Linked DNA regions of Homo sapiens: all the other regions are linked to region 5. The links are contacts of gene promoters, found by promoter capture Hi-C in human tissues and cell types (Jung and others, 2019). All regions are on one chromosome and are shown on one strand. The core of a region is centred on a gene start or on the middle of the fragment in contact, and the rest is flanking DNA. Distances in the headings are between cores, read along the strand shown.

What was found. Contacts are between HindIII fragments. The study calls those that stand out against the background at their distance.
Region 1: a contact is called between a fragment that was not itself captured here and the fragment with the promoter of ZNF136 in region 5, in 1 of the 25 tissues and cell types used here (dorsolateral prefrontal cortex).
Region 2: a contact is called between a fragment that was not itself captured here and the fragment with the promoter of ZNF136 in region 5, in 1 of the 25 tissues and cell types used here (lymphoblastoid cells).
Region 3: a contact is called between a fragment that was not itself captured here and the fragment with the promoter of ZNF136 in region 5, in 2 of the 25 tissues and cell types used here (adrenal gland and lymphoblastoid cells).
Region 4: a fragment that was not itself captured here is called in contact with the fragment with the promoter of ZNF136 in region 5 in 1 of the 25 tissues and cell types used here (liver).
Region 6: a contact is called between the fragment with the promoter of ZNF443 here and the fragment with the promoter of ZNF136 in region 5, in 3 of the 25 tissues and cell types used here (adrenal gland, mesenchymal stem cells and small bowel).

The regions. Positions count from the first base shown.
Region 1 is chr19:11,651,903-11,655,451 of GRCh38, reverse strand. It overlaps the pseudogene ZNF887P. Among named protein-coding and RNA genes, the nearest start is that of ZNF627, 56 kb to the right of the region's middle. The HindIII fragment of the contact is 4,182 bases long and covers 209-3,549 here.
Region 2 is chr19:11,851,156-11,854,751 of GRCh38, reverse strand. All of the region lies in intron 1 of ZNF439 (zinc finger protein 439), which reads right to left. Among named protein-coding and RNA genes, the nearest start is that of ZNF439, 4.2 kb to the right of the region's middle. The HindIII fragment of the contact is 4,001 bases long and covers 338-3,596 here.
Region 3 is chr19:11,687,304-11,690,822 of GRCh38, reverse strand. No RefSeq gene overlaps it. Among named protein-coding and RNA genes, the nearest start is that of ZNF823, 50 kb to the left of the region's middle. The HindIII fragment of the contact is 6,716 bases long and covers 1-3,519 here.
Region 4 is chr19:12,458,317-12,462,229 of GRCh38, reverse strand. ZNF709 (zinc finger protein 709) reads left to right here. Exons shown (of 4, transcript NM_152601.4): 4 at 1-1,046. Among named protein-coding and RNA genes, the nearest start is that of ZNF443, 19 kb to the right of the region's middle. The HindIII fragment of the contact is 6,925 bases long and covers 1-3,913 here.
Region 5 is chr19:12,161,683-12,165,034 of GRCh38, reverse strand. It overlaps ZNF136 (zinc finger protein 136), which reads right to left and starts at 1,939. Exons shown (of 4, transcript NM_003437.5): 1 at 1,829-1,939. The coding sequence starts at 1,831. RefSeq lists enhancers at 1,839-1,998, 2,009-2,098. The HindIII fragment of the contact is 18,447 bases long and covers 1-3,352 here.
Region 6 is chr19:12,439,740-12,443,089 of GRCh38, reverse strand. It overlaps ZNF443 (zinc finger protein 443), which reads left to right and starts at 2,069. Exons shown (of 4, transcript NM_005815.5): 1 at 2,069-2,178. The coding sequence starts at 2,176. RefSeq lists an enhancer at 1,621-1,890 and a silencer at 2,301-2,390. The HindIII fragment of the contact is 16,773 bases long and covers 1-3,350 here.

The DNA of each region.
Region 1 (3,549 bases), core at 1,050-3,549, 510 kb after region 5:
CCTCATGATCCCAAGTAATCCTAATTACCTCCCAGGCATCCTATCTCCTCATTCCATACATTAGGGAGTAAGGTTTCAAAATATGAATTTCAGGGCTGGGCGTGGTGGCGCATCTCTATAATCCCGGCACTTTGGGAGGCCGAGGTGCATGGATCACCTGAGGTCAGGAGTTGGAGACCAGCCTGACCAACATGGTGAAACCCTGTCTCTACTAAATACAAAAAATTAGCCGGGTACGGTGGCGTATGCCTACAGTCTCAGCTACTTGGGAGGCTGAGGCAGGAGAATCGCTTGAAACCAGGAGGTGGAGGTTGCATTGAGCCAAGATTGTGCCATTGCGCTCCAGCCTAGGCAACAAGAGCAAAACTCTCTCAAAAAAATAATAATAATATGAATTTCAGGGGACAAATAAAGCAATAATTTTCTACCTGCTCCCTAAATTTATGACCTCACATGCAAAATACATGCTTACCATCCTAACATCACCAAAAGTCTTGACTTGTTTCAGCATACTCTGAAGCTTAATATCAAAGTCGCTTCCAGGTCACCAGAGATAACATGGCCAAAACCATTGCAAGATGTGTTTGATGATTCAAAGAGAAAGAAAAAACAGCTTTTCCTATGACAACGTTTCCAACTAAAGCATCTGCAATTATGAAGACTGAAACTTCAGCAGGGTGCGGTGGCTCACGCCTATAATCCCAGCACTTTGGGAGGCCAAGGTGGGCAGATCATCAGAGATCAGGAGTTCAAGACCAGCCTGGCCAACATGATGAAACCCTGTCTCTGCTACAAATACAAAATTTAGCTGGGGATGGTGGTGTGCGCCTGTAATCCCAGCTATTTGGGAGGCTGAGGCAGGAGAATCGCTTGAACCTGGGAGGCAGAGGTTGCAGTGAGCTGAGATCGTGCCACTGCACTCCAGCCTGGGCGACAGAGACTCCATCTCAAAAAAAAAGAAAAAAAAAAAGGACTGAAAGTTCGATGCTTAAATATTTTCAGCCCTCAAACACCACAGATCCAAGATTTGTGTTACTGACCTTCCACCAAAGAGGCAACATCTGCAATCAGATGTTGGTTCTTCCAGCAGAGGATCCTCCTGATGTCCTGAAAGAAAATTCTGGCCGGGCAGGGTGGCTCATTCCTGTAGTCCCAGCACTTTGGGAGGTCAAGGTGGGCAGATCACGACGTCAGGAGTTCAAGACCAGCCTGGCCAACATGGTGAAACCCCATCTCTTCTAAAAATACAAAAATTAGCCGGGTGTGGTGGCGGGCACCTGTAATCCCAGCTGGTTGGGAGGCTGAGGCAGGAGAATCACTTGAGCCCAGGAGGTGGAGGTTGCAGTGAGCCGAGATCACACCATTGCACTCCAGCCTGGGTGACAGAGCAAGACTCCATCTCAAAAAAAAAAAAAAAGAAAATTCAAGTTAAACTGATGTCCCCTGACTTATCTACACTGCCACATATCTAAGCACCTCAACACACTGCAGCTTTAGGAACCACAGAGCAATCATCACATGAGGGTTATCAGGAGAGAAGAACCAAGGATTTGGAGAATGTTAACACGTGTTTTTGAGGCCATTAAATGAAACCAATCCAAAACGTTTTTTAAAAAAAAAAGAAAATGTTTCATTGTAGCTGACATATACTATGAGGTGGGCCTGTACTATGGAGGTGGGCATGTGATGGTTATCTGTATTAAACATCTACAGATGTTTTTTCTTGTCAGCATTCCCTAAATAACACAATGAAACAACTATTTTTATATCGTTTACAATGCATTAGGCAGTATGGATAACCTAGAGATGATTTAAAGTGTACAAGAGGATGTGCTTAGGTTCTAGGAAAATACACCATTTTATATAAAGCACTTGAGCATCTTCAGATTTAGATGTTCTGAAGTGGGGAGCGGGGTGCCTGCAACTAATCCCCTGAGAATACCAGGACATGACAGTATTTCAGAGAAACAGAAACTACACAAGGCGTTACCACATTTTTTACACTCATAGTTTCTCTCCAGAGTAAATTCTTTCATGTATCTAAAATAAACAAGGAGCATGGAAAACAAGAATCGTTTTCCATGTTCCTTACAGTTATGAGGTCTATCGCCAGCATGTCACACCATATGCCTTCAAACGATTGAGAGAGAAAGGAAAGGTTTCCCATGTTCCTAACATCATTGTTTTTCTCAAGTGTCAGTTCTTTCATGGTTTCAGAAGGTACTGGAATAGTGGAAGGCTTTACTTTTTTTTTTTTTTTTTTTGAGACGGAGTCTCACTCTGTCACCTGGCTGGAGTACAGTGGCACAATCTCGGTTCACTGCAACCTCCACCTCCCAGGTTCAAGCAATTCTCCTGCCTCAGCCTCCCAAGTAGCTGGTACTACAGGCACATGCCACCACGCCCAGCTAATTTTTGTATTTTTAGTAGAGATGGGGTTTTACCATGTTGGCCATGATGGTCTCAATCTCTTGACCTCATGATCCGCCCGCCTTGGCCTCCCAAAGTGCTGGGATTACAGGCGTCAGCCACCGCACCCAGCCGGCTTTACATTTTTTATATCCACACAACTTTTCTCCGTTGTGAGTCCTTTCATGTCTTTGAAGGGAACTGTGATAACAGAAGGCTTTCCCACATTCCTTACACTCAAAGTTTCTCTGCAGTGTGGGTAATTTTATGTCTACGAAAAGCAACAGGATAACGGAAGGCTTCCCCACATTCCTGACATTCATAAGGTTTCTCTGCAGTGTGGGTAATTTTATGTCTATGAAAGGTCGTGGGATGACTGAAGGCTTTCCCACAGTCCTCACATTCATACGGCTTCTCTCCAGTGTGAATTCTTTTATGTACTCGAAGTGAACTGGAATATCTGAAGGCTTTCCCACATTCCTGACATTCATAGGGCTTCTCTCCAGTGTGAGTCTTTTCATGATTTTTAATAGAACTGGGAAATCTAAAAGCTTTACCACATTGTTTACATATATAGGGTTTCTCTCCAGTGTGAATTCTTGCATGTTTTCTAAGGGAACTGGAACAATTAAAGGCTTTCCCACATTGCTTACATTCATAGGGTTTCTCTCCAGTGTGAGTCCTTTCATGATACTGAAAGGAATTGGAAGAAGCGAAGGCTTTCCCACATTGCTTGCATTCATAGGGCTTCTCTCCAGTGTGGATTCTTTCATGTTTTTTAATGGAACTGGAACAACTAAAGGTTTTCCCACATTGCTTACATTCATATGGTTTCTCCCCGGTGTGCATTCTTTCATGTCTATGAAAGGAGCTGGGAAAACCAAAGGCTTTCCCACATTCATTACATTCATATGGCTTCTGTCCAGTATGAGATCTTTCATGTGTGAGATATAAACTGAGATTATCAAAGGCTTTCCCACAAAACTTACATTTATAAGGTCCATCTCCACTGTGCACTACCCTGTATCTTCGAACGGTTTGGGGAGAATCGAAGGTTTTTTCCCATTCCTTACAATCATAGGGTTTCTCTCCTGTGTGAGGCTTTTCATGTGTTTGGAAGGAGTGGAGGCAGCTGAAGGT
Region 2 (3,596 bases), core at 1,089-3,588, 310 kb after region 5:
AGAGCCTTGCTCTGTTGCCAAGCTTGAGTGCGGTGGCACGATCTCGGCTCACTGCAACCTCTGCCTCCTGGGTTCAAGCAATTCTCCTGCCTCAGCCTCCTGAGTAGCTGGGATTACAGGTGCCCGCCACCATGCCTGGCTAATTTTTGTATTTTTAGTAGAGACGGGGTTTCACCATGTTGGCCAGGCTGGTCTCGAACTCCTGACCTTGTAATCCACCTGCCTTGGCCTCCCAAAGTGCTGGGATTACAGGCGTGAGCCACTGTGCCTGGCCACAAACACATAATATCTCTACTTTGATGATTTTGGGTTGCATCCCTGGGCTATGGATTCCCATTAATCTGTCCAAGCCTTGGGCTGCCACCCCTGCTTTGCACTTTGTGAAACTTCTTCTAACTCAGCTTACTCATCGTGCCCGTAGAGCCTTAGGCATGATAATTTTGGCTATTGTTTCCTTGGTCACACCAAAAACTTCTGTTGTGATGTACTCCATCACTTTGCATAGTTCTATTCAAACAGTTCAGTACGTGCAGAACTGGATGCATACAGCCAACCAAGTGTGGCTACTTCATAATAGAATTAACACTGAGTTACAAACTGAAGTGGCAATGTTGAAATCCATAGTTCTATGGTTAGGGGAACAAGCACAAAGCTTACAATTGCAACAGCAATTGTGCTGTCATCTTAATGCCACTCATATTTGTGTAAACAACTTAGAATACAACCAAAGTGAGCATCCACGGGACCTTTGATATTGGTGAACTGCAAAACAAAATTCTTGACTTAAATAAGCAAACTCAAGAGTTTCAGCCTTCCTTAGAAGTCTGGAGTGAATTCCTGCAAGGCCTAGAGAGCCTCAATATTTGGACCAATCTAAAGCACTATATTAACATCTCATATATAGTTATTGGAATGATGTTGTTTAGTCTCTGTTTTTTGTTCATAGTCTGTAAAATCAGATGGACCGCCAATCAGAAAATGAGAGCTGCCCAACCTGGCCTTACATTCATTCAATTAATGCATAAACAGAAAGGGAGAGATGTTGGGAGCCCAAGGCCCAAAGGTTGTGACCAACTCAGCTTTCCACTGAAGGCTATATGATAAACAGTGAACTGTTTATCATGAATGCAGAATGTGGGCAAACTCACATCTGCTTCTGCTGCCAGAAGGTATACTGAGGACAATCACTCCCTGGTGCTGTGCTGCTTGAGGTTATCTACTGGGACATCTGGAGCCTATTGTTTGAAAAATGCAGTCATGCAGGCCTGCTCTAAATCAAGTAGCTGACCTACAACCACCCGCTTCTCTCTATCCCCTTTACTCAGTAAACATGAAGGGTGCTAGAAGCTCGGGGCCCACGTTCACTACAAGCAAGAAGCCCCCTGACCCCTTGTTCCAAACATATTCTTTTGCCTTTGTCTTTATTCCCGCATTCGTCCTCCTTTGTTCAATCCAGTAGGGTCCGTGGTACCTAACGACCCTGAAATCAAATTGAAATACAACTCTTGAAAATTACTAATTTAGGCCAGGCGTGGTGGCTCACACCTGTAATCCCAGCACTTTTGAGAGTCCAAGGCAGGTGGATCACGAGGTCAAGAGTTCGAGACCAGCCTGGCCAACATGGTGAAACCAAGTCTCTACTAAAAATACAAAAATTAGCCAGGCGTGGTGGCAGGCGCCTGTAATCCCAGCTTCTCAGGAGGCTGAGGCAGGAGAATCGCTTGAAACTGGAAGGCAGGGGTTGCAGTGAGCCGAGATTGCACCACTGCACACCACCCTGGGCAACAAGAGTGAAACTTCGTCTCAAAAAAAATAAATAAATAAAATTACTAATTTATAGAAAAATGAAATTTATGCTTAATCAGGCACAGTCCACCAATTAACCTCTGATTACATAACTAGAAATTTTCTACCTATATAGGCTGTTGGAAGAAGTAAGTCAGGCCAGCCATGGTGGCTCACACCTGTAATCCCGCCACTTTGGGAGGCCAAGGTGGGTGGACCACTTGAGGACAGGAGTTGGAGACCAGCCTGGCCAATGTGATAAAACCCTGTCTTTACTAAAAATACAAAAATTAGCCGAGTATGGTGGCATGTACCTGTAATCCCAGCTACTTGGGAGGCTAAGGCAGGAGAATTACTTGAACCTAGGAGGTGGAGGCTGCAGTGAGCTGAGATTGCACCACTGCACTCCAGCCTAGACGACAGAGTGAGACCCCGTCTCAAGACAAACAAACAAACAAAAACAACCAAGTAATTCAAATATTTAAGCTGGTGCATCTCTAAACTGTCTTGAAGCAATGTGATCATGGGGTTGAGTCACATGACACACAGCTTTCAAATAGCCAGCTGGAACACCTCTTTCCTTGATTACAGATTCGCCTTCCTTCTTACCTATACTGTTTTATAAAATGTTGTAAATGACTGAAGGGAAACAGGAAAGACCCTTTCCCTCTTTGCTATTTTTAATTTATTTAATATGATTTTTCACAATTGAGATGGGGGGTCTCACTATGTTGCCCAGGCTTGAACTCCTGAGATCAAGCCATCCACCTGCCTCAGCCTCCCAAAGTGCTGGGGTTACAGGTGTGAGCCATCCCACTGGGCCCCTCTTCACTACTGATCTCTGTAGTAGACTAACTTCCCTCTTAACTTTCTCACACAAAGACTTCATGGCTATCACATTGTCTTCAGTTGGAATGTTGAATTCACTCTTTTAAATTGAAAAGGAAATAAAAACCAGCTAGAAAGAAAAGAAAACAAGCTCTGGGGGAAAAAAGCAAACGATAACAAATTAAGTTGTTAGCCAGGTGCACTGGCTAACGCCTGCAATCCCAAGACTTGTGGAGGCCAAAGAAGGAGGACTGTTTGAGGCCAGGAGCTAGAGACAAGCCTGGGCAATGTATCGAGACCCCACCTCCATAAAAAATTAAAAATTACCCAGGTGTGGTAGTGGGCGACTATAGTCTCAGCTACTTGGGAGGCGGAGGTGCTCAAGATGGGGAAGTCAAGGCTGCAGTAAGCCGTGATGGCACCACTGCTCCAGCCTGGGCCACAGAGCAAGACATTGCCTCAAAAAAAAAAAAAAATTAAATTATTGTACCTCATACATCAGCCTTCTATGGAAAATGTAATCCTATTATATTTATTTGCCGTTTCCCTATATAAGTGTTAGGGAAGCAGGTGCCTAGGGGAGCCAGAGAAAGACCAACCAGCTCCATCTTGAGACTAACAAGAAACACTCCTTGCCAGTCACAACCCATAGTCATAAAATGTTTCCCATGAAGAAAACAGCCTGAAGATGCCTGCAAGTATCCTTACACTCCCACAACGACAGAATGTCCCGATGTCCCAATACCCCAATACCCATAATATGTGCTTTCAAGGTAATTATAGTTATGCTTTAATGCACTTGTGCACTAAAATGTAAAGGATAGTTTTCTTTAAATCAACAGAGTAATAAATTTTGTGATGCTGTCAGCCCACATGCAGGTAGGCACAGCTTAGTTTATTCTTTACATAGACAAGATCCCTACATAAGAAAAACTTAAGACAGTACATTCCTCCTCTTGCTGTATGAGGATGCCCTACTCTGT
Region 3 (3,519 bases), core at 359-2,858, 470 kb after region 5:
AACCATTTTCAACAGAAAGACACAGATACCTTAAATAGAAAGGTATGGTGAAATATATGCCATTCTAGCCCTACTCAAAAGTATGGAACGGCTATATTAAATTCAGATAAATCAGGTTTTTTGGTTTATTTATTTATTTATTTATTTTTCGAGACAGGGTCTCTGGCACCCAGGCTGGGGTGCAGTGGTGTGATCACAGCAACCTGTGCCTCCCGAACTCAAGCAATCCTCCCACCTCATCTGGGACTACAGGCGTGTGCTACCATGCCTGGCTAATTTTTGTATTTATTTTTTGTAGAGACAGGGTCTCTCCATGTTGCTCAGCTGGTCTTGAGAACTCCTGGGCTCAAGTGATCCACCCATCTTGTCTTCCTGAGATGAATCACGAGGTCAGGAGATTGAGACCATCCTGGCTAGCATGGTGAAACCCCGTCTCTACTAAAAATATAAAAAATTAGCCAGGCGTGTTGGTGGGCACCTGTAGTCCCAGCTACTCGGGAGGCTGAGGCAGGAGAATGGCGTGAACCCGGGAGGCGGAGCTTGCAGTGAGCCGAGATGGCACCACTGCACTCCAGCCTGGGCGATGGAGCGAGACTCCATCTCAAAAAAAAAAAAAAATACACATTCAAAGTGGTAATTGACATAGATTAATATGTTCATATATATTGTTTGTTGTACTTGTGCTTTTTTTCTACTTGCTCTATTTTTCTGCCTTTTAATTGAGCGTTCTATATGATTCCATTTGCTTGCTTCTATTAGTGTAGTAAGTCTACTTGTTTCTTAAATTTTATTAGTGAATTCCATAGTTTGCAGTATACATTTGCAACTAATGGACTTTCATTTTCAAATAACACTATACTGGTGTCTGGGGTAGTGCCAATATGTTAAGAGTGTTCTGAATTCCTCTTTCCAATCCCATATAATATCACTGTCACGCATTTGACCTGTTAGAAGCTATAACCACCCAATACATTGTTGATATTCATTTGAACAAACATTTATCTATGAAGGAGAAGAAAAGATAATCATATTTGTGCCCTCATTTAATTATTTTCTAACAAGTTTTATTTCTGAAACATCTGCTTTCCTAACCTGTATCAGTTTCCTTCGCTCTGAAGAACTTTAACATGACTGGCAAGGCAGGTATACTAGTAACACATTCTCTCAATTTCTTTCCTCTTTCTTTTCCACAGACTGGTAATTTTTTTCTTTCTTTTTTTTTTTTTTTTTTTTTGAGATGGAGTTTCACTCTCGTTGCCCAGGCTGGTGTGCAATGGCGTAATCTCGGTTCACTGCTACCTCCACCTCCTTGGTTCAAGCTATTCTTCTACCTCAGCCTCCCAAGTAACTGGGATTACAGGCATGCACCACCACACCCAGCTAATTCTGTATTTTTAGTAGAGACAGGGTTTCTCCATGTTGGTCAGGCTGGTCTCGAACTCCCGACCTCAGGTGATCCACCCACCTGGACCTCCCAAAGTGCTGGGATTACAGGTGTGAGCCACCGCGCCTGGCCCAGACTGGATAATTTTAATTGTTTCATCTTCACAGTTGCTGATTCTTTGTTATGTTAGCAAGTAGTGAATTGGCTCACTTCCAGATGTACACACAAGCCAATAGCATGGCACCAGCTTTTGAAGAAAGAAAAGCTTTACTACAAGTTTGACTGGCAAGGAGAAAGGAAGAAATGCTCAAATATGTCTCCCTGAGCTGGGGGCTTTGGCAAGTTTTATAAGCGTGGGGTAATAAGACATGAACTCACTGCATCTTGCAATGATCTCATGCCAGGTTAATGTGACTCGATTGGATCCTGCCATGGGATGATACCGGGGCCCAACCTGATTAGATCCTAGATTCCACCATGTGGTATCTTTTTTTTTTTTTTTTTTTTGAGACAGAGCCTCACTCTGTAGCCCAAGCTGGAATGCAGTGGCATGATCTCGCTCACTGCAACCTTCACCTCTGGAGCTCAAGCAATTCTGCCTCAGCCTCCCAAGTAGCTGGGACTACAGGTGTGCGCCACCACACCTGGTTAATATTTTGTATCTTTCACAGAGACAGGGTTTTACCATGTTGCTCTGGGTGGTCTTGAACTCTTGAGCTCAGGCAATCCACCCACCTCAGCCTCCCAAAGTGCTGGGATTACAGGCATGAGTCACCGTGCCCAGCATCTACTTTTTACTTTAATCTCCACACCTCAGTCCAAGCATATAGGTTCCACCCATGGTTACACATTTGGTTCATCTGGGCATGCTCAGATTATGTGACCTTGAGTGTTGGGTCCATGGCAACTGAAAACTCAGCTTTGTTATATAGAAGTTGTACCACATAATCTGTTGTGGTTACAAATCCCTCCTATTATGTTCATTCCTAAGTCTTGAAGGAAAAGGAATGATAACTGCTCTAACTACTTTCTGCTGATTAGAGTCATAGACCTTAGAGGAATGAAAGTATTTAGTGCTTTGCTCTGGGAGTTCCCTGGTATCAGCCAGGTGCGGTGGCTCACGCCTGTAATCCCAGCACTTTGGGAGGCCGAGGCACGTAGATCACAAGGTCAGGTCGATTGAGACCATCTTGGCCAACAGGGTGAAACCCCATCTCTACTAAATGACAAAAAATTAGCTGGGCGTGGTGGTGCGCACCTGTCTCTCAGCCACTTGGGAGGCGGAGCTTGCAGTGAGCTGAGATCACGCCACTGCACTCCAGCCTGGGCAACAGAGCAAGACTCCGACTCAAAAAAAAAAAAAAAAAAAAAAAAAAAAAGGAGTTCCCTGGTATCAAGATCACATTTTAGAAGGCGTTATTTCTACATAGTTCTGGGGAAAAGGCATAAGGAGTTTGCAACCTAAACATTATTTGTTCCAGAGAACAAGGGAAAGCTTAGGTTTTATAGCAAAAGTTCCCATCTGGGTTCCTAGTCAAGTGCTTTTATGCAAATGAAGATCTGAAACTTGAAACTCAGTTCTGATTGGTTGATACAGCTGAGCTCTGATTGACTAGCTCAGGTGAGCCCCCAAAGTTAAAAAGGTGTTGGTTTTCAGGAAACTCACAGTGCTTGTGACCCCTAGTTAACAAGTGGCGGCTTAGCTCTTTTTAAAACTTAGGCCCAGTTAGCCAGTGTGAAGGACTGACTCTAACCCGTCCACAGACAGCATTCATAAGTTTTTGTGTGTGTTCTATCATGGTACCAGTGACCTGCTGTGGGTCCATCCCATGCAGGGATCCTAATGGCAGGGCAGTGGCCAGTTGGGCAACTATAGCCATTTACTTATAAGAGGTTCTCAGGAACCTGTTAAATTTTAGCCAAAATCTCTTGGGTTAAGTTGGTTTCAGTGGCCAGCTGGAGTGAGTTTAAAATCTCAAGTATTAGGTCAGCAAGAACCTAGTGGGGGTCTCTTGGAGGCATCTGTTGAAACAAGATAGAACAATTTTAAAGAGGAGCCAAATGCATATTTTAAATAGGATCATTGAGACTTGTAGGGCAGAATGGAGAAGAAATCCTATACCAGGGGAAGAGCC
Region 4 (3,913 bases), core at 1,223-3,722, 300 kb before region 5:
CAGGGACACCTGCTTCCACCACATTGTCCTGATCCTTTGCTCTGCCAATTGAGAGTATTCTTAGAACCACCACTAACTGCTTGACTGCCATATTTTCCTTCCTTCCTTCCTTCTTTCTTTCCCTTTCCCTTTCTTTTCTTTCTTTACTTTCTTTTTCCGAGATGGAGTCTTGCTCTGTCGCCCAGGCTGGAGTGCAGTGGTACGATCTTGGCTCACTGCAACCTCTGCCTTCTGGGTTCAAGCAATTGTCCTGCCCCAGCCTCCCAAGTAGCTGGGATTATAGGTGCCCACCACCAAGCCCAGCTAAATTTTTTTTGTATTTTTAGTAGAGACAGGGTTTCATCATTGTTGGCCAGGCTGGTCTCAAACTCCTGACCTCATGATCTGCCCACCTTGGCCTTCCAAAGTGCTGAGATTACAGGCGTGAGCCACTGTGCATGGCCCCAGCTGCCATATTTTCAAAGATGTAGTTTTCCACAAATTGTCTTCAAAAGTTCTACTCAAAGATGCACTGCAGTTTGGATTTTCCTAGAAACTCTAATGTGTCCACCAGGCAACCATTTAGACTCTTAAGGTTGGGAATATTCTCTGATGCTCTGACTCACCTCATCTCTAGGTTGAATTTATCCAAGGTATTATTTATGTAATAAACACCATGTTTTGTTAACAGTACCAGTGACTATGTGTTTCTGATTCCACCGTGACAACTACAGTGGTGCAGTCAAAAAGAACTACATGGGTGTCTGCTTCTCCACTGCACTGTGCAGGGAATGCACTTACCCAGTCCTACAGTGTAAGAATAAGCACCTTCCTAATATCAAGCAGATTGTCGGTGTTTCCTATTACAGTTGAATGTCATCTCTCAGTACATTTTCAATTTTGTTTCATTATATGTGATTAAAAACCATGTGTATGTTTTTGTTGAACAAAAGCTTCTGTAGATGTTTCTTAGAAATATTTTATTAACTTTTCAAATAACTTGTATGCTATCACTTGTCTATTTAATTTTCTGCAAGGATATATTAAAATATTCCATTGCAATTATAGATTTTCAGATTAAGTTTTTTTATTATTATACTTTAATTTCTAGGGTACATGTGCACAACGTGCAGGTTTATTACATAGGTATACACGTGCCATGTTGGTGTGCTGGACCCATTAACTCGTCTTTTACATTAGGTATATCTCCTAATGCTATCCCTCCCCCCTCCCCCCACCCCATAACAGGCCCGTGTGTGATGTTCCCCTTCCTGTGTCCAAGTGTTCTCATTGTTCAATTCCCACCTGTGAGTGAGAACATGTGGTGTTTGGTTTTTTGTCCTTGTGATACTTTGCTGAGAATGGTGGTTTCCAGCTTCATCCATGTCCCTACAAAGGACATGAACTCATCCTTTTTTATGGCCGCATAGTATTCCATGGTGTATATGTGCCACATTTTCTTAATCCAGTGATTTTCAGATTAAGTTTTTAAGTTTATTGAGTTAATCCTCATATATTCTGAGTCAATATTATGTGCATACAAGATCAAGTATTTTCCTTAGGAATTTTTTATTTTTTATTCTTAATATAGTTATGATTTTTTCCCAGAAAATTTCTCATGCATTCATAATACCAAAAACTTAAATCATGGTTGTTTCAGTGCCTTTTTTTCAAAGATCACCAGGATCACACCTGTAGTCAAGAGAAGAGTGTTAAGAATTGTAGGAATAAGAATGATCATAAACCATAAATGACTCTGGGGAGTATCAGTAAGAGGGTGCTCGGCTGGGCGCAGTGGCTCATGCCTGTAATCCCAGTACTTTGGGAGGCCAAGGTGGGCAGATCACAAGGTCAGGAGTTCGAGACCAGCCTGGCCAACATGGTGAAACCCCATCTCTACTAAAAAATATATAAAAAATAGCCGGGCATGGTGGCGTGCACCTGTAATCCCAGCTACTCAAGAGGCTGAGGCAGGAGAATTGCTTGAACCCCAGGAGGTGGAGGTTGCAGTGAGCCGAGATCACGCCACTGTGCTCCAGCCTGGGCGACAGAGCAAGACTCCTTCTCAAAACAACTTCTTTTTGGATTTGGATTTGTTGGGTGACTTGATTGCTAATCACCAAACTGAGACACTCCTGTGTGTGTTGCCTGCTGTGAGGTGAACTTAATTGTGTCACTGGTAATCATAATTCTTATCTAGAGGCAGGAAGAATGAAGTGGAGCTAAACCTAATTCCTAAGAAACCACTCACTTGGATTAGTGAGTAGAGGGCAATTTTGGTCATTTTAATGGCTTCAACTCTGTTCTCTTTTACCATTTTTAGAGACATGGTTATTGTTTTTGTCTTGATCCATCATGATTGCTGAGTAGCTTTGTCTGATGAAGGAAATGTGACATTTTTCTCTTCAACAGGATAAGACTTGGCCTTATCTGAGTGTGAGGTCAGATCCTAGTCCTGTGGAACTGCTCTTAACCTTTCTTATTATCTAAACATGGAAATATTTCTTATGGTGTATTGGACAATGTTTTCCACAAAATATCTCAGTCAAAATATGTAAGTTCACTGAGTCTTTAGCAAACTATATACTTTTTTTTCTCTTTTGTGCACTAGCAGAGTCCTGTAAGTGTAGATAAGTTTTCAGAGACCACAAACCTAGCAAGGTGCAAAGACAGAATCACTGTTCAAATCAAGCCATCTTGCTCTTGATGCTGATTTTTTTAACCTTTCTCATAGGCCTGGCACTGTAGTATCAAAGCATACACAATTCAGCACAAATAATCAAGACATTGTAGGCTATGGATATAGAAACATGAAACAAGTTCTTGCCTTCCTGTTGCTTATAGATTTGGGAAAAGAGAGATGGTTAATAAAAGGTGAGGATTTGGTTTTTAGAAAGCAATTAAGATCTTTGAAGGAAATGAAATAACAACCAACCTGTGAGATTAATAGGGAAGCTATGGTTGTGTTGGATACCTTAGCTTTGGAGGGTAGGGACCTCCAATATTGTCATTGATCATTTATTTCCATTATCTAACATATCTTTTTTTTTTTTTTTTGAGACAGGGTCTTTCTCTGTCATCAGGCTGGAGTGTGATCTTGGCTCACTGCAACCTCCGCCTCCTGGGTTCAAGCCATTCTCCTGCCTCAGCCTCCGGAGTAGCTGGGATTACAGGCGCCCACCATCACGCCCAGCTAATTTTTTTTTTTTTGTATTTTTAGTAGAGACGAGGTTTCACCATGTTGGCCAGGATGGTCTTGATCTTCTGACCTCATGATCCACCCGCCTCGGCCTCCCAAAGTGCTGGGATTACAGGCGTGAACCACCGCGCCTGGCCTTTTTTTTTGTTTAGACGGAGTCTCACTCTGTTGCCAGGCTGGAGTGCAGTGGCGTGATTTTGGCTCACTGCAACCCCCTCCTCCCAGGTTCAAGTGATTCTGCTGCCTCAGCCTCCTGAGTAGGCTACATGTGTGTGCCACCACGCCCAGCTAATTTTTGTATTTTTAGTAGAGACGGGGTTTCACCATGTTGGCCAGGATGGTCTCAATCTCTTGACCTCGTGATCCACCTGCCTCAGCCTTCCAGAGTGCTGGGATTACAGGCATGAGCCACTGAGCCTGGCCTATCTAACATATCTTATTAAAACACTGAGGAACTGCTCAGGTTTGATGTATGCTGGGGAACAATACAGTCCTACATCCCTGGGATGAACAGTAATGATTCCCCATAAACAAAGGTGTAGATATGGTTCATCTTTATTTTTATAATGGATAAAATTTTTGAGACATGTAAAGCATGATCATGAATTTGGACATGAGTATTTAGGATTTGAGATTTCCTATTGATTTGGGCCACAGGTGTTGATGATGTTTACATTTCTGTTTAATGTCATTTTAAAGATTCTTAAGTTGCCTTGGATATTTGACATGATCATT
Region 5 (3,352 bases), core at 690-3,189:
TGAAAAAGGGGGACAGGATGTGGGCTGATACAAAGTTGTTTGTCAGGAATTCTCACTGATTTACAGAAGTAACATTGATAAGCGCGTGGCTATGCACTGTTAAGCTATAGGGTGTGGGTTCCAGGGTCCCGTGTTGCATTAGTAAGTTGATTATACCTACTTGTGGCAATAGCAGTTTCAAAAGATGAATTCATAGCTTCAGGGAGTTAGAAGGTGATTGCTGTATCACTTGAATGTCTCTATGTGCCCGTTCATTTAAAAGGACCCACATTTATCAGACGAAAATTATTTTTTTGAGGCCGGGTACAGTTACGCCTGTAATCCCAGCACTCTGGGAGGCCAAGGCAGGCGGATCGCGAGGTCAGGAGATCAAGACCATCCTGGCTAACAAGGTGAAACTCCGTCTCTACTAAAAACACAAAAAATTAGCCGGGCGTGGTGGCATGCGCCTGTAGTCCCAGGTACTGGGGAGGCTGAGGCAGGAGAATCGCTTGAATCCGGGAGGCAGAGGTTGCAGTGAGCCGACATCACGCCACTGCACTCCAGCTTGGGCGACAGAGAGACTCCGTCTCAAAAAAAAAAAAAAAAAAAAAAAGTTATCTGGGAGTGGTGGCGCAAAACTGTGGTCCCAACTACAGGGGAGGCTGAGGCAGGAGAATCGCTTGAACCCAGAAGATGGAGGTTGCAGTGAGCCGAGATCACGTCACTGCACTCCAGCCTAGGCGACAGAGCGAGACTCTTTCAAAACACACAAAAAATTTTCTTTTCTCAATCCTCAATACCAGCATCTGATTGGCTGACCACCAGTGTGTCTCCAAAGGATGGAAACTGGGGTTGGGGGAGGAAAAGCTGAGTGCCCCCAGAGGTTGGCTATTTAGAAGCAGGGTATGCTAGATTTATCCTAGTCCCAGGGCATTCTCCCAGCCTTCTATTTCAACTGTCCTCTAGGAAGACTCACCCAAGACCCAATATTCACTAGATCCTCCAAGAGACTTGGCAGCTGTGGGCAGCTTGAGTCAGCCCCAGACAGTTTTGAAACCCAGAACCAGGAAAAAATAAATAGGAGGGGGCGCTGAAGGCATATCACCCTGTAAAGATTCCAAAGGGGAACCTCAACTCAAAGACATTCTGATGAGGTATCTGTGCATAGAGGAGACAAAAGGACAAGCACAAAGGTTTCTTACAGCGGAGTGTCAAGGCTATGAACAGAAAACAAACCTTGATGAAAGAGTAATCCATTGCTTTGTTGAAAAATAAACAATGAAAGCACAATATCTGAAATGTAGAATATAGGAGAAACGGTTGCTAATGTCGTGAATGGAAGGGGAGAGGTTGGCGTTTGGAAAAGCGAAAAGAGAACAGGAAATTTGGGGATTTACTGCAAGCCCTGGAAACAGCAGGCTGGGGGACAGAGTGAGGATTTGGGACCCTGCATCCCATACACTTAGAAAACTCAGGGAAAAACGGGTGTCCTCTGTGGAGAGAAAAGGAACTGGGAACCTCATACACCACAGCTCCTTCCACGCACAAGTCAGGATTTCCCCCACCCCATGACCCTCGCGTGGGCCCCGCACAATCTGAAGAGACTTGGGTCTTCGGGGCCGGGGCCGCAATCGCGGCACAGGGCGGGACGAGGACGCCCGGGGTCCCGGCTGCCGGCCCAGCCCCACCCTGAGGCCGAGGGTACCAAGGGCTGAGCTGCGCCAGAGGGACTCGGTACGCAGACCCAGAGTCGCCCACGGGAAGGCCCGGGCCGCGCCACAGCCAGTTCCGGTCGTCCAACCAGCCCCTCCTCCCTGTCTCGGGACGCAGGGCCCGACACACTCACCATTTCCTGACTCCCGGGTGTCCCAGCTTCCTCCCTCCGGATCCCAAGGCAGGTACAGGAAACCGCGCCACAGAGACTCCAGGCGAGCCACTCTGGGCCTCTGGGACTAGCGAAGCGAAACCAAGTACGGCAGACGCGAGAAATGAAAATCCCGCGAGAAGGTTGAACGTCTGCAGCTGCGTCCCCGACGGCGCGCCTGATTGGACCGATCGCAGAGCTCCTCCCCGGTGCCCCTGATTGGGTACAGCTTCGGGCTCTGCCCCCTGCATCTTGACAGATGTGAATGACAGGAGATGTGAAGCATAGATGAGTGAAGCGGGAATGAGGGGTCTTGGCCCCAGCCCTCAAACGCAGGGTGGACTTCTTCCCCTCGTCCCCTTCACTGTACTTGGTCTGCGGGGGATGGGGAGATGGGAGATACTTGCATTTTAGCAGAACTTAATCCGGGTTTACCAAAGGAGATACTTCCTGTACTCAGTGGGTCATTTCTTCATCTACCTCTTGCATGAGGAGTCACAGGTGTGCGCAGGGAGTTCCAGGCAGGACTGGAACAGAAGAAAGGGCGTGATATTCCCAGGGATCGGAAATTTGGGATGAGGATATGGGAAGCGTGCCCAAGGCTTTCTCATACCATACCTCTTTATCTCTCTCTATTTTTTACTTTATTTACTTATTTATTACTTTATTTACTTATTTATTACTTTATTTATTTATTTGAGACAGGGTCTAGCTCTGCCACCCAGGTTAGAGTGCAATGGCATGATCATAGCTCACTGCAGCCTCCATCTCCTGGGTTCAAGCGAACCTTCCGCTTCAGTCCCCTGAGTAGTAGAGACTACAGGTACATGCCACCAAGCCCGGCAAATTCTTTAATTTTTTGTAGAGACGGGATTTCGTTTGTTGTCCAGGCTGGTCTTGAACTCCTAGCCTCAAGTGAACCTCCCACTTTCGCCTCCCAAATCAATCTACTCATTTTCACCCAAGAAAATAAAAAACTGCCAACAAGTGAATAAAATTATTAAATACATGGAAAAACAAGTTCTATTTCCGTAATCTGTAAAGAAATCAAAAGGGAAGTAAAGCGAAAATTTGAACTAGCTCAGATAAGCAGGGCACTTCAGAACATTTAAAAAGGAAAAGATGAATTCAGAAGGTAGAACATATTCCCAAGCTTAAGAGTCAGTGACTGCTGAAGTGGAGCCACAGAGTACATTAGACCCTGATGATGAGGCAGGAAACCTAAGGATTTAACTCTGGGAGCTCAACATGCCCTCCTGTCACAGCATCACAATGTGGGAACGCTCCCTCCTTCAATACCTTAATAATTTACACCAGCAGAAAACTCTCACCTGTGGTCAATTTAGGCCCCTTGAAATTCCAACCTCTCTAGCTCATAAACCATTTCTCTGGAACGCTACCTAAATGAGTCTCTAAATATGATCTTTACATATTTTCTTCATATATACAAATTACAGCCTGACTGCAGCAACTCTATACATAGAAAAATCAAGGCCGGGCACAGTG
Region 6 (3,350 bases), core at 820-3,319, 280 kb before region 5:
AGGAGACATTACAGTTGATACTGCAGAAATTCAAAGGATCATTAATGCAACTAAGAACAACTATATGCCAATAAACTGGAAAACCTAGAAGAAACTGATAAATTCCTAGGCAGATAGAACATAGCAACATTGAACCATGAAGAAATAAAAAACCTGAACAGACCAATAACAAATAATGAGATCAAAGCCATAATAAAAAGTCTCCTAGCAAAGAAAACCCCAGAACCCAGTGGCTCCACTGCTGAATTCTACCAACATTTAAAAAAGAACTAATACCAATCTTACTCAAACTATTCCAAAAAACAGAGGAGAAGGCAATACTTCCAAATTTATTTTACAAAGCCAATATTACTTTGACACCAAAACCAGACAAAGACATGTCAGAAAAAGAAAACTATAGGCCAGTGTCACTGATGAATATTGATGCAAAAATCCTCAACTCAATACTAGCAAACTGAATTTAACAATACACCAAAAAGATCATTCATCATGACCAAGTGGGCTTTATCCCTGGGATGCAAGGATGGTTCAATATATGCAAATCAATCAATGTGATGTATCATTTCAACAGAATAAAGGGCAAACACCATATAATCATTTCAATGTGCACTGAAAAAGCTTTTGATAATATTTAACATCCCTTCATGATAAAAACCCTAAAAAAAAGTGGGTAAAGAAGGAGCATACCTTAACATAATAAAAGCTATATATGGCAGACCCACAGCTAGCATGATAATGAATGGGGAAAAACTGAAAGCCCTTCCTGTAAGATCTGGAACACAATAAGAATGCCCACTTTTACCACTGTTGTTCAACACAGTACTTGAAGTCCCAGCTAGAGCAATAAGACAAAAAAAAAAAAAAGAAAAAAAAAGAAATAAAGGGCATCCATATTGGGAAGGAAGAAGTCAAATTATCCTTGTTTGCATATAATATGATCTTATATCTGGAAATACCTAAAGACTCCACCAAAAAAGTATTAGAACTGAGAAATAAATTCAGTAAAGTTGCAGTATACAATATCAACACACAAAAATCAATAACATTTTTATATGCCAACAGTGAACAATCTGAAGCTACTTGAGAGGCTGAGGTGGGAGGATTGCTTGAGCTTAGGAGGTAGAGGTTGCAGTGAGCCATGATGGCCCCACTGCACTCCAGCCTAGGTAACAGAGCAAGACCCCATCTCAAACAACCAAAAATGTGTAGAAGGATGGTTACCAGAGGCTGCGAAAAGTAGTAGCGAGGAGTAGTTATGGGGGAAGTGGGGATGGTTAATAGGTATAAAAAATAGTTACAAAGAATGAATAAGACCTAGTATTTGCTAGCACAACAGAGTGACTATAGTAAAAAATAATTTAATTGTACATTGAAAAATCTTGAAAAATTTCATTGAAAAAGAGCATAATTGGAGCCAGGCGCAGTTGCTCACGCCTCTAATCCCAGAACTTTGGGAGGCCAAGGTAGGCGGATCACGAGGTCACGAGTTTGAGACCAGCCTGGCCAACATGGTGAAACCCAGCCTCTACTGAAAAATACAAAAATTAGCCGGGTGGTGGCGCGTGCCTGTAATCCTAGCTACTCGGGAGGCTGAGGCAGGAGAATTGCTTGAACCCACCCAGGAGGCGAAGGTTGCAGTGAGCCTCGCACCATTGCACTCTAGCCTGGGCGACAGAGCAAGACTCCCTCTCGAGGAAAAAAAAAAAAAAAGATATAATTAGTTTGTCAGTCCGTGTCCAGGAGGAAGAAGCAGGAGGTCCTATTGAGTACGGGCAGGAAATTCCGCTTAAGTGCAAATATAACCCGGGAGGATTCAGATCAAAGAGCAGGGAGGAAGCCCCCCCTGCCAAGGGCTGTGTCAGGAACTTGCTCATCCGGCTCCACTCAGCTGTGCAAGATCGCTTCTTCTGTCAATCAGCCCTCAGGGGGCGGGACCTGACGCCCTATCCAATCAGGGGCGTGGGGCGGGTTCGTGGGAACTGTCAATCAGGCACTGCCCAGAGAAGTGTGTGTGGTTGAAAAAGCCCGCGGCGTCTGCTCCACCCACCTGCGCTCGGCTCTGGGTTCTGTAGCTGAGAGACGACCTGGAAGTTCTGAGGCAGCCTTTGTCTGGCTGGAACACGCATTGGCAGCGGGAGCTGTCGGTAGGACCTGGGACACCGCGGAAGTCGGGAAATGGTGCGTGTGCTGGGCCGGCGTCCCGAGGCGGGGGAGGGGTTAGGTGGAACCGGCCGTAATCGGCTGTGGCTGGACCCGGGCCTCCCCAAGGGCGACTTCGGGATCTACGGACCCGGGTCCCCCTGGCGTAGGTCGGCCCTCGGCCGCAGGGTGGGGCTGGGCATGCAGCCGGGACCCCGGGCGTCCTGTCCCGTTCCTGCGCGGCGACTGCGGCCCCGGCGCCCTCTCTGGGCAGCTCCGAGCCCGCAGCCCCGGGTCTCCCCAGATTGTGCGGCTGTAACCAACACAGGTTCGCGGCCCGACTCACTGCACCGAGACGCCGAGGGCTGCAGCAGAAACGGTTTAACAGGAGGAGAGGGGAGGACACCCCAGATCCGCCTCCCTGAGGGATTTGGGGTCTGGACGGGGGCGGCTGGGTGTAGCGTCCTTGGTTGGTGGGGAAGTGAGGGGTGAATCCTGGGACAGGAGGTGAAGAAACCGCATTCTGCTGAGAGGGCTCCCTCGTGGGGTCTTCAACCTGGTTGGCGCCAGCCTTTCTGCTGGGATTCAGGATCTGAGAACTCCGGCGACTCTTGAGCAGCACTCGGAGATCTTATCCCCAGGCACAATGGGGAAGCCGGCGGTCAGCGTCTGCTGTGACCTGACTCTCAGGGAGGCGGCCCCTTGAGGCAGCGGGGCTGAGGGCACCTGTTTAATATCTAACTGCAATCTCGCCTCCAGCCTGGCTCGCAGTTCCTGTGAACCCGGTGAGGAGGCTGCACGGTGACGACGAGTCACCAGGTGGAATCCAGACTCGTGTGTGGGGTTTGTGTGTGGGAGGAGCTGTGGTTTCCGTGGTCCTCAGTCCTTTCTTCCTTTCCAAGGGCGACCGTTTCCCCTCTGAGTCTTCCAAAGACGTGGGCAGCAGGGTCTCAAATCCACCACTGTGTTCTCTCATCCTGACTCTTCCTAGGGCTGGCAGCAAATCTCTTGGTTTCCAGAGACTTCCCCAGGCTAACCTTCTGTCCTTAATTCACAGCAACAGTATGAACTGTTTGGCCCCAGGCGATATTTCACTAGTTTGTCATCTTGTTTTCAGCTAGCAATGTATGGCTTTTTCTTGAAAGAATTGTTTTGGGTTCCTGAACACGGTGGGTCATTCCTGTAATTCCAGCACCTTGGGAGGCTAAGGC